Regions from separate parts of the Homo sapiens genome. Here regions 1 and 3 are each linked to region 2. Evidence: promoter capture Hi-C in 16 types of primary human blood cells and fetal thymus (Javierre and others, 2016). All regions are on one chromosome and are shown on one strand. The core of a region is centred on a gene start or on the middle of the fragment in contact, and the rest is flanking DNA. Distances in the headings are between cores, read along the strand shown.

Region 1 (3,170 bases), core at 496-2,995, 3.2 Mb after region 2:
ATCAGACAGTTTAGAAATCTTATTAGAACTTGGAGTTCTTTGACTCGTTTTCTCTTTTCATTCATTCAGCATATTGCTTACTCTATATCTACTGGATGCAAGGTACCATTTGAGGTGCTTTCTCATCCATCAAACTGTATATCTAGGTGTGTGAGTTAACTTTATTTTACCTTTTTAGTTGAGATTTAGTTAGGTCTAAAAACATTTGGAACACTGGATTTTTTTGTTCAATAGTTGATCTCGCTGTTTAATATCTAAGTCAGCACATGCAAAGTCTCTTGTACAGTATTTTCTATTTTAATTATTCTGACTTAAAAAGTTTTACGTTGTTGTATATCGAGTTGAATTTATTTAACATTGATTTGAAAATTACTTGTTGAGTCATTAGTTTCTACTCTACCTGGAAATGATTTGTTGTATTAACTAATAAACTGAGCAATATTTTAAATGGGAGAACTCATATATCACATCGCATTGAAATTTCTAGGAAACCTCAAATTATTGCTGCTTAAAATGGGGTGTAATATTTGTAGATGTGAATTTAAAAATAGTCACTGATCATCTGTAGTTAGTCTAGTTACAATCGCAATGGTTGAATTTTAATCAAGAGGAAAGTAGAATTTTAAGAGCAGTTTTAAAAGTTTGCAGGTTAAAATTGATGCGTTCATTTCAAGTGTGATTGAGAAAGGAAATGGTCGTATCTTATGGTTGTTTCTGTCTCTGGTATAAAACATGACTGATTATCACCATCTACCTTAAGATTTAAAACATTTTTAACAAAGTAAATGGAATTGGATAGGAAGCTAAAAGTTGTTTTTGGTACTATGGTATACGTTTAATTAGATTTTACATTTTTTAAAATATGAGATTTATTTTAAAGAAAAGGGGCACTTTTTCCAAGTATCAGAATTCTTAAACTGTAGAATAAAAAACTTTTTTTGGACGAAAGGAAAGCTTTGTCATTTGTTTATTTCTTAGTTTGAATAGTGAATCTAGTTAGTTTATTAAGTCTGCTTTCTAGTTGTCACTTAATGATGATTGCATATTTACGAGATCTAGAGGCAGAATTTTCAAGCATTTTACCGAATTTGGCACTCTCTTGATTACATTTTTTCTTGTAAGACTTCTCTTTTTTCCCCCCAAGAACTAGTTCATGTTTTGCCAATCTGTTAAAATGATTTAATTTTTTCCTTGTAAAATAGTGATACTTGCCTTTCTTAAAATTATTCCACTTTATTAGAAATCTTTTTTGTTTGTTTGCTTGTTTGTTTTAAGTGAAAGGATTGGGAGTCAGGAGATGTGGATTGTGGTTTTAAGCCCCGCTGACAGTTAAACTGTAGGTAATCTTGGGCAAGTCATGGAATTTCTCTTTGTCCCAGTTATCTCATTTGAAAAATAAGTGGATTGAAATTTTTTCAATCTGAAAATCTGTGATTTTGAACTAGAAATAGCAGTACATTGTATTTAAGAACTAAGCTTTATTTCATTCTTAGAGCTTAGTTTTCCAAAACACAGAAAAGTAGAAATCACATAGGTTACAAAATTATATAAATGCTTTTCATAGTGCCATTCTTTGGTGGTAATATCATTTCTTGTTGCAAAGATGATTTGAGACACTAACTACGTTGTAAAATGCCCCAAAATTACCATGATTTCCATCATAGTTTAAGTACTAGTTTTCATTATTGTTGGTCTCAAATTCAGAGATGAATAGGAATGATGGATAGGATTTATTTAAGTATATATCTTAGGTATACATTTATTTAGTGTGTGCTGATTAATGTGAAAGTTAAGGTATAAAACCTAGAGACAACTTTCAGGGAAAAAAAAAAGATATCATATTAAATGTTTTAGAAGTAGGGATTCCCATTCTATATTGAAGATAACATAGTTTCAACACTTGATTATTATAATTTTTTGGGGTTGGGTGAACATGTAATAAAGTAAATGTGTGTAGTTGTAGTAGAGTTACTATTTCCTTTTTTAGTAGAGTATCAATGAAATAGAAGCTTTGCGTGGTAGTCTCTAAAACAGCTTTAATCTCATATGGTCGTTATAATGATGAATAAAATATGTTAGGCGTGAAGGGTTATATGATGAATAAAATGTTAGGTGTGAATATGTTGCTGAGAGGCTGAAGGAGCATTCTTCATTCTTTCTTACATATAGAATTATTCTATTGATGCTTATACCATTTTTTAAAATTTGAGGCATTTACAAACTTTTTAAATGCAATACTTACTATATTGTTAATATTCTTAAATAGTTGTAAAGCGGCATGAGCATAAAGCGGGAGCTGGAATGTCCCTTTCCCAAACCATAATGGTTTTTATTTGATTGTTGTGAGGCAGAATCGTATTGAGGGAGTCTGTTTTCCATTCTGTAAAATGGGCTAATAATAGCTTCTACTTTGTGTGGTCTGTGAGTAATAACTGGCATGAATCAAGTACTATGTAAGGGTTTTGGTTTGCTATTATCAGAACTTTAGTAGTGGTAGTAAAGGTTGTTCTGCTTAGAGCTTTATAATAAAGTTTTCTTTAAGAAAAGCATTTACATTTTTATTCCAGGCACAAGTATGTATATACTTTCTGAACATAGAATCTGCAGTATAAAAAGGCCACATTAAAACTTCAGAAGAGTCCAGGTGTGGTGGCTCATGCCTGTAATCCCAGTACTTTGGGAGGCCATGAGTTGGAGACCAGCCTGGACAAAATGGAAAACCCCATCTCTACAAAAACTAAAAAAAAAAATTAGCCAGGTGTAGTGGCGCATGCCTGTAGTCCCAATTACCCCGAAGGCTGAGGTGAGAGGATCGCCTGAGCCCAGGGAGGTTGAAGCTGCAATAAGCTGTGCCCCATGCCACTGCCCTCCAGCGTGGGTGACACAGTGATACCCTGTCTCAAGAAAAGAAAAAAAAAATCTTCGGAAGATACTATAATTACTTTATAGACTCAAGGATGAAACAGGTCTAAAAAATAAAGGAAAAATGTTTAATACCAAAAATAAATCATGGTTAAGGCATTGTGGATAGACCTCTGGAAAAATTGTGCTACTGATTTCTACTGTGACTTGTTTTTATGGAACACTGAACATTAAGAAATAATTTGGGTGGTTGACATATCCTGAATGGATTAGAGAATATGCAAAGCTTTTTTTCTTTGGGTAATCAT
Region 2 (3,126 bases), core at 1-2,500:
GTCTCGATCTCCTGACCTCGTGATCCGCCCGCCTCGGCCTCCCACATTGCTGGGATTACAGGCGTGAGCCACCGCGCCCGGCCAACTTAAGCTTATTTTCAAAACCACTCAATTTTGACATTACAAACTGGTTTTTGTTTTGTAGAAGGACATTAAGAATAAAGAGCAAAGAAACAATTATGTGCTGGGAAGGGCAGTAGGAGGGCTGGGTCCTAGTCTCCCTTTCTCTTTCGCTAAGCAGCTGTGTGGCTTTGGGCTAGTAACCTACCCTCCCACAAAAAAGGCTTCAAAAGAGAGCAAGCAGAGCTCAGTGGGCATTAAGACATGCGCAACTCCTTTCTTTTAGAGATTAGATGAGGTCGACTCAGTGGCTTGTAAAACTCAACGTGGCAGAGCTGTACAGCCAACTCATGATTCTTAGTGTCGTTTGTTTTGAGTCACACTACACCTCCTTGAACAATCATTTACTGAGTGCTTACCGTATTAGGCATTCAGCAGCAGTGTGTTTCCCATTCAGTAACCTAGTATTGATTATTGGCTACTGTCCCTCCTAGCATTTTTCACTTGACCACTTTCTAAATGGCCTTTAGATTCAGAGTTCAAGTGGAAAAAGCCTAGTGTAAGCCTGGTGTCAGGCAGTGAGTGGCGTGACCCGGGTCGGCAGCTAGTCCTACGGTGGTGATCTAAGAGGGCAGTGACGCCTTCTGACCAAGGGAGTGACTGCCAGATAATCCGGGTGTATGGAGATCCAGAGAGGGGTGAGGCTGGGTTTACGGAGACTACACCTTTGGCTTTGCAGTAACCCCACTGCTAAGGCCATGGGAGGAAACTCTTCTGTGCAGGACGCCTATGCACTTGGCTTCTGCTGCGTAGCGACCGGGTGTCCAAGGCATCCTGCCAGGTCTCCTTCTCCACTCGGGTTTAGCCTCCCCCGCGAGTCTCCAGCTACCTAGAGAGACGTTTCTAACTACGAGATGGCTGGCCTGAAAGGGACACTCCCATCACCGTTGTTGGCCTAGAGTTCCCCGCTGCGGCCTTTTTCTTTTCCCCGCCCCTGGCCTGAGTCAGCGGCCCCAAGGCCGGCGAGGTCAAGTTCCTTTGGGGCGCCAGGGAAAAGGCCATGGCAGAGGTGCTGCCACGCGAAACCTTCTGGGCAGGCACCAGCCAATCATCAAGAGACATACAGGAGCCCCAGCCAACCAGCGCCCGCCTTATTACTGGGAACCGCCCGCTCGGGCCCTTCCTCTACATCCCCGTTCCCGATTCCTGTAGTAGCGGCTGTATTGCAGCCGCCTGCCGAACTGACCCGGGTCTGGGGACTGGCCCCTCTGGCGCCGTTCGGTTTCTCTTATTGCCTTCACTGAGGATGAGTCCCTTTGTGGCTCTATGTGGACCCTGCGGAATCCACCGGCGCAGTTTCATCTAGCGACTGGTGAGGGAGGGCTTGGCGCTGCCCGACCGTGCGGTGCGGCTTCCCTTCAGCCCGGGGGCAGGGGGAGAGTATTCGCCTTCTGGAGGGTGCGGGTGGCTGCGGACGGCGGCGCGGGGGGACCGTGGGGAGGGGACTCTGTGGCCCCGAGGCTGCCGGGCTTCGCGCGAGGCGGCGCGGAGAGGGCCGAGTGGCCAGGGTCCCTACCGCCCCCCTCAGCTAATGAATGGCCTGTCCCGGCGATGCGCTACGCTCCCGTCCTGCTGGACACGCCCTCCAGCGACATTGCATTCCTAGTTGTGATAGTTATGTAGTGTCACTTTCCTTCGAGTCTTGGATTTGAAGCCATTCCTGTGGGCGCTCATGTTCCTTATCCCCTTCCTGGAGTCACAAGTTTGAGTCCACCCTGGGGATACTGACTCTGGGGAAGCAGGTCGTGAAATCTGATAAGTGGACATTGATTGCTATGTAAAAAGGAACTGATTCTTTTTGGAGGGTGGAGGGTTGAGAGAGACAGAGAAGACAGGCCCTTTGTTTTTGTAACAGGCAGAGCTGTCTGGCTCAAAGAGTTTTAGTTCAGCTGCGAATTAGGTAACATAGGCCGTCCTTGACTCCTGTTTTCCAACGTAGTTCATAAAACTTGACTGTGTTAGCCAGAGATTCATGTAGCACCTTTTAACTTATGCCTCGAAGTAGGCCATTTGAAATTTATCAGAAATACTGAAAGGATATGACTTTTATGAGTAGTAGTGTTTCAGTGCCCATAAAGTGGTGTAAATTCACAGGCTTGCCAGCCCCCTCTTGATCATTTCTCTTTTTGTATTTTGAATTCCTTAACTTTTATTTGTTTTAGAAATTGAGGCAAGGTAGATGAGGACAAAACTGGTTTCTAAAAATAATTACATTTGCAAATATTTGCAGAAGCTTTAGTCAAACCAGAGTTTACTTCAAGAAATTTTTTAGGCCGGGCGCGGTGGCTCACGCCTGTAATCCCAGCTACTGGGGAGGCTGAGAATTGCTTGAACCCGGGAGGTGGAGGTTGCAGTGAGCCGAGATCGCGCCGCTGCACTCCATCCTGGGCGACTGAGTGTGGCACCATCTCAAAAAAAAAAAAAAAAAAAAAGATGCCTGTAATCCCAGCAGTCTGGGAGGCCAAGGTGGGCGGATCACTTGAGGTCAGGAGTTCGAGGCCAACTTGGTGAAACCCCGTCTCTACCAAAAATACAAAAAAATCAGCCAGGCATGGTGATGTGTGCCTGTAATCCCAGCTACTCGGGAGGCTGAGGCAGAATCGCTTGAGTCTCCAGCTGCCCTACCAAACTGCTTTTGAATTCAATTATTTTGAATTGAATTCCATGGTACTTTTTTCTACTACACTATACTACTTGCATTGAAATTTTTCTAACTGCCTTTTGGGAGAGCAGTTTGGTAGCATAGAATAGGTGGGATCAAGAGCACTTTTCTGTCGGTATTATTTTAGGTAGGCTTTTTAAACTTTCACATGAATCTCCTCATCAGAAAATGAAAGTGATCATATTTACAGGGGCAATAATAAGGATTATATTTATGTAGAGCACTGTGTATAATGTATAAAACAAAATTTCACCTATAATTTTTGTGTGTTTTTTCCGTTGTTTAATTTTGTTTTGCTTTACTCACTTCCAAAGTATTGACCCCTTACTCTTCTTTCTAGTTTC
Region 3 (3,221 bases), core at 361-2,860, 3.0 Mb after region 2:
AAGAAGGAGAGGTAAATATCACAGAGATTGAACCTGAAAAGTACCAGGGGTGGAAAAACTGTGTAAAACATACCTGGGGTAAAGAATCTGCACAAATATTAAATTTGATTGAAGGTTGGGAAAACAAAGAGTGGGTTCCTTGGAAGGTCACAGAATGCCCTGGTTCCTCTTGCTGTTAATGCAGTTGTGAAGTATGCTTATGCAATCATTGACATTTAGCCTTGAAAGGGTGTGGCTTATGGGCTTTGGCCAAGGTAAGTTCCCTTTGAGGATTTGGGATCAGGGATTTTCATCTCCCAGGGGCCCAAGGAGCTGCCTAGAGGGGCTGCCTGGGAAGAAGAAGACACTTTTCTAGGTATCTGGATGTGTGCAGTTTTTAATCACTCTTCAGGTTCCTTGCAACTACAGAAGAGAAAGAAAGTGAAATAAACAGGTTGTGCCCAGCAAAACTGAGATGGAGCAAAAGCATGAGGTGAGGACTGTGGGGCGAGTTTCACCCACAGAATTACGCTCCTGCTCTGGAAGTATGTTGAGAACTCCACAGGCTTTTATAGATACCTGTCATCAGAATCCAAGTACCGGCATTCAGCAAATATTTGTTGAGAGCAAGGGCCTAGTCTATTAAATACTCTAGTCCCCGAATTATAGTGTAAGCAACACATGAAAAGCTTGTTTGAAAATGCAGATTTCCAAGCCTAGCCATTCAATACCTTGGGACTGGGGCCTAGGGATCTGCACTAATATCAGGCAGCTCATTTGATTTGGGACCGTTAGTTCTTGGACTCTTATTGTTGCTTTGTAAAAACTAACCTTGGTCTCTTCAAAAGTTAGCACCCAATCAAAGTAGAGACTTGACTGGAAAATACAAACAAAATATTCTTTTGCCACCTCTTATTTGTTGTTTTTGATGTTGTTTTGTTACACACCTGAATTCTTCACTGTGTATTTTTTGACCTATTTATGGAAGATTAGTAACTTAATCTGGAATTACAAACTATCAGAAGCAACACAGTATCATTTTCACTTTTCCCCTTTCTTCCTTTCTCCCTCTGTCTGTCTCTCTCTCTCTCTCTCTCTGTGTGTGTGTGTGTGTGTGTGTGTGTCTGTCTGCCAATGTCTCTGTCTCTTTCTTTGCCTTAATGATAGTCATGACTATCATTTGTTTTGCCCTGCTGTCTGAAAAATGCAAAGTAGGTGTACAGTTGCAACTATCAAAAGCAACAATATGTACATTCTGGATCTGACTTCTCCAGTAATTTGTCATTACTTACAGCAAAAGCCTAAGGGACCCTGCCTGTGTCTGCCTGAAAGAGGAAAAGAGGGACAGTTCAAGAAGGAGGTGATCTGCAAGTCATTCTTTCCCTTGAAAACTTCCTCTCAAGCCTGGTGTGGTGGCTTGCACCTATATAACTACTCAGGAGGCTGAGGCAGGAGGATCTCTTCAGCCCAGCAGTCTGACGTGCAGTGAGCTATGATTGTGCCACTGCATGCCAGCCTGGGCAACAGAATGAGATCTTACCTCTAAAAAAAAAATTTTAATATTAAGCATTTTTTTTTCGGAATGTCAAAGATCCACAACATTCATTAGCAGTGGCATTCAATTTTTTTGACCAAGACCATACTAAAAATATATTTCATGTCACAATCCAACATACACACATACATATCTGTGTTGTGTATGTGTTTATATGAGCACATATGGAAAATAGAAACAATTATCTTATGAAACATTACTTACCTTTACCATATATACTCTGCTATTTTCTATGCTTGGCCCTTTCTTTGCTTTTCTTAGCCTTCCCTTCTCCCTTCTCCCTCTCTCTCTCTCTCTCTCTGTGTGTGTGTTTGCGTGTGTGTGTCTGTCAATGTCTCTGTCTCTTTCTTTTCCTTAATGATAGTCATGACACTATAAATGGTTTTGCCCTGCTGATTGAAAAATGTGAAGTAGGTGTACAGTTCCAACAGTTTTGAGTAGGACAAAAGAGGAGAGGAGCTGGAATTGGAAAACAAGTTTGTTCACTATTTTTTTTCTTTCTGTCTCAGTCAGTAACTCTGTTAATTTATCCAGGTCTACCTTAGCTAAGATAGTATATACATCCTACTTTTACTGTCTTAGAGGCTGATATTCCAAAGTAGTAGAAATGCTCAGTGGAATATATTGATAAACAAATGAGTCTGTACTTCTTACCAGCTTGACCTCCTCACTGTCTTCTATGTGACACCCTCATTTCTGCCCAGATGTCTTTATCTCTTAACCTAGAATTCTAGCTACCTGCTAAATCATTCTCTTTGCCTACTCTTCTTACCTCCAGGGCCACCAGTAGAGGTTTGCACTGACTTTCCCAGATCTTGAAGGCTACTAAAGGTACAAGGGAGAACACTTCATTTCCTAGAGTAGTGCTCAGCCAGGTGCAATCTACATCAAAGGAAAGATAAGCAATGCTGTTGTTTTTCAACCGAAGCTGTTATTTTCATAACTTGTAAATGAACTAAAGATTCCAAGAACTCGAGGTCCTCACAATCAGCTTTCTTCATCCAACAAGCAAGCTTCAATTTCATCGTAGCATTTTTATTGTGTGCAGTAAAAACATTCACAATTTTGTTTGCTGTTGATGATCTGAGTGTTTGGTTTTGAAAAAAAATTAACAAAGAAGCCAATTTTGTGAGTTATTTTTCATCACAGAGGAGAAATATTCACCTTAGCACTACCTTTGTTGTGGCACCTTTCCATCTCCATGAAGAAAAATAGCCATCCAGTCCAGATTGCAAGTGCTACTCAGTATCCTTCTCACACATATCTTACTAAAAATGTTTTCACTGACTTTTTCTTTATTTAACTATCAAGTATTTGGCAAATTAATATCTTGAAAGACATCTTCATTATAAATATTATTTTAATGATAAAATTATTAACTTGTAAATTTTTATCTAGCTCTAAGCAATTGGTTTTTATCTTAATTCGTTTCAGTATACTATTGTCATTCACTGAATGCCCAAGAACAGGGAATCTATCAAAAATGATTAAGATCATGTCAAAAGGACACAAGCACTAATTTGAAAGGGTATGCATTGGCTAAAGATGTGGTAATAGGAGCATTAAAAAGGTAATAATAATGATAGCAATACACTGATGCACACCAAATATGTAAAAATCCATGAGTTCATAAAGATGTTCCAAAAAAGAAAGTAATCAACCACCTCTGGAGAGTACTAGATCAATT

Evidence for each region. Contacts are between HindIII fragments. The CHiCAGO score rates a contact against its expected background, and 5 or more counts as called.
Region 1: a contact is called between a fragment that was not itself captured here and the fragment with the promoter of IBTK in region 2, in 2 of 17 cell types (activated CD4 T cells and fetal thymus). The highest score is 8.3, in activated CD4 T cells.
Region 3: a contact is called between a fragment that was not itself captured here and the fragment with the promoter of IBTK in region 2, in 2 of 17 cell types (activated CD4 T cells and total B cells). The highest score is 6.5, in activated CD4 T cells.

Annotation. Positions count from the first base shown.
Region 1 is chr6:79,072,231-79,075,400 of GRCh38, reverse strand. The region is part of intron 4 of PHIP (PHIP subunit of CUL4-Ring ligase complex); the gene reads left to right. LOC124901346 (a long non-coding RNA gene) reads right to left here. Exons shown (of 2, transcript XR_007059652.1): 2 at 1-3,170. Among named protein-coding and RNA genes, the nearest start is that of PHIP, 4.4 kb to the left of the region's middle. The HindIII fragment of the contact is 533 bases long and covers 1,479-2,011 here.
Region 2 is chr6:82,245,868-82,248,993 of GRCh38, reverse strand. It overlaps IBTK (inhibitor of Bruton tyrosine kinase), which reads left to right and starts at 1,250. Exons shown (of 29, transcript NM_015525.4): 1 at 1,250-1,432. RefSeq lists a silencer at 1,448-1,617. The HindIII fragment of the contact is 2,262 bases long and covers 94-2,355 here.
Region 3 is chr6:79,236,130-79,239,350 of GRCh38, reverse strand. It overlaps HMGN3-AS1 (HMGN3 antisense RNA 1), which reads right to left. Exons shown (of 2, transcript NR_040671.1): 2 at 2,551-3,221. Among named protein-coding and RNA genes, the nearest start is that of HMGN3, 3.1 kb to the right of the region's middle. The HindIII fragment of the contact is 1,879 bases long and covers 671-2,549 here.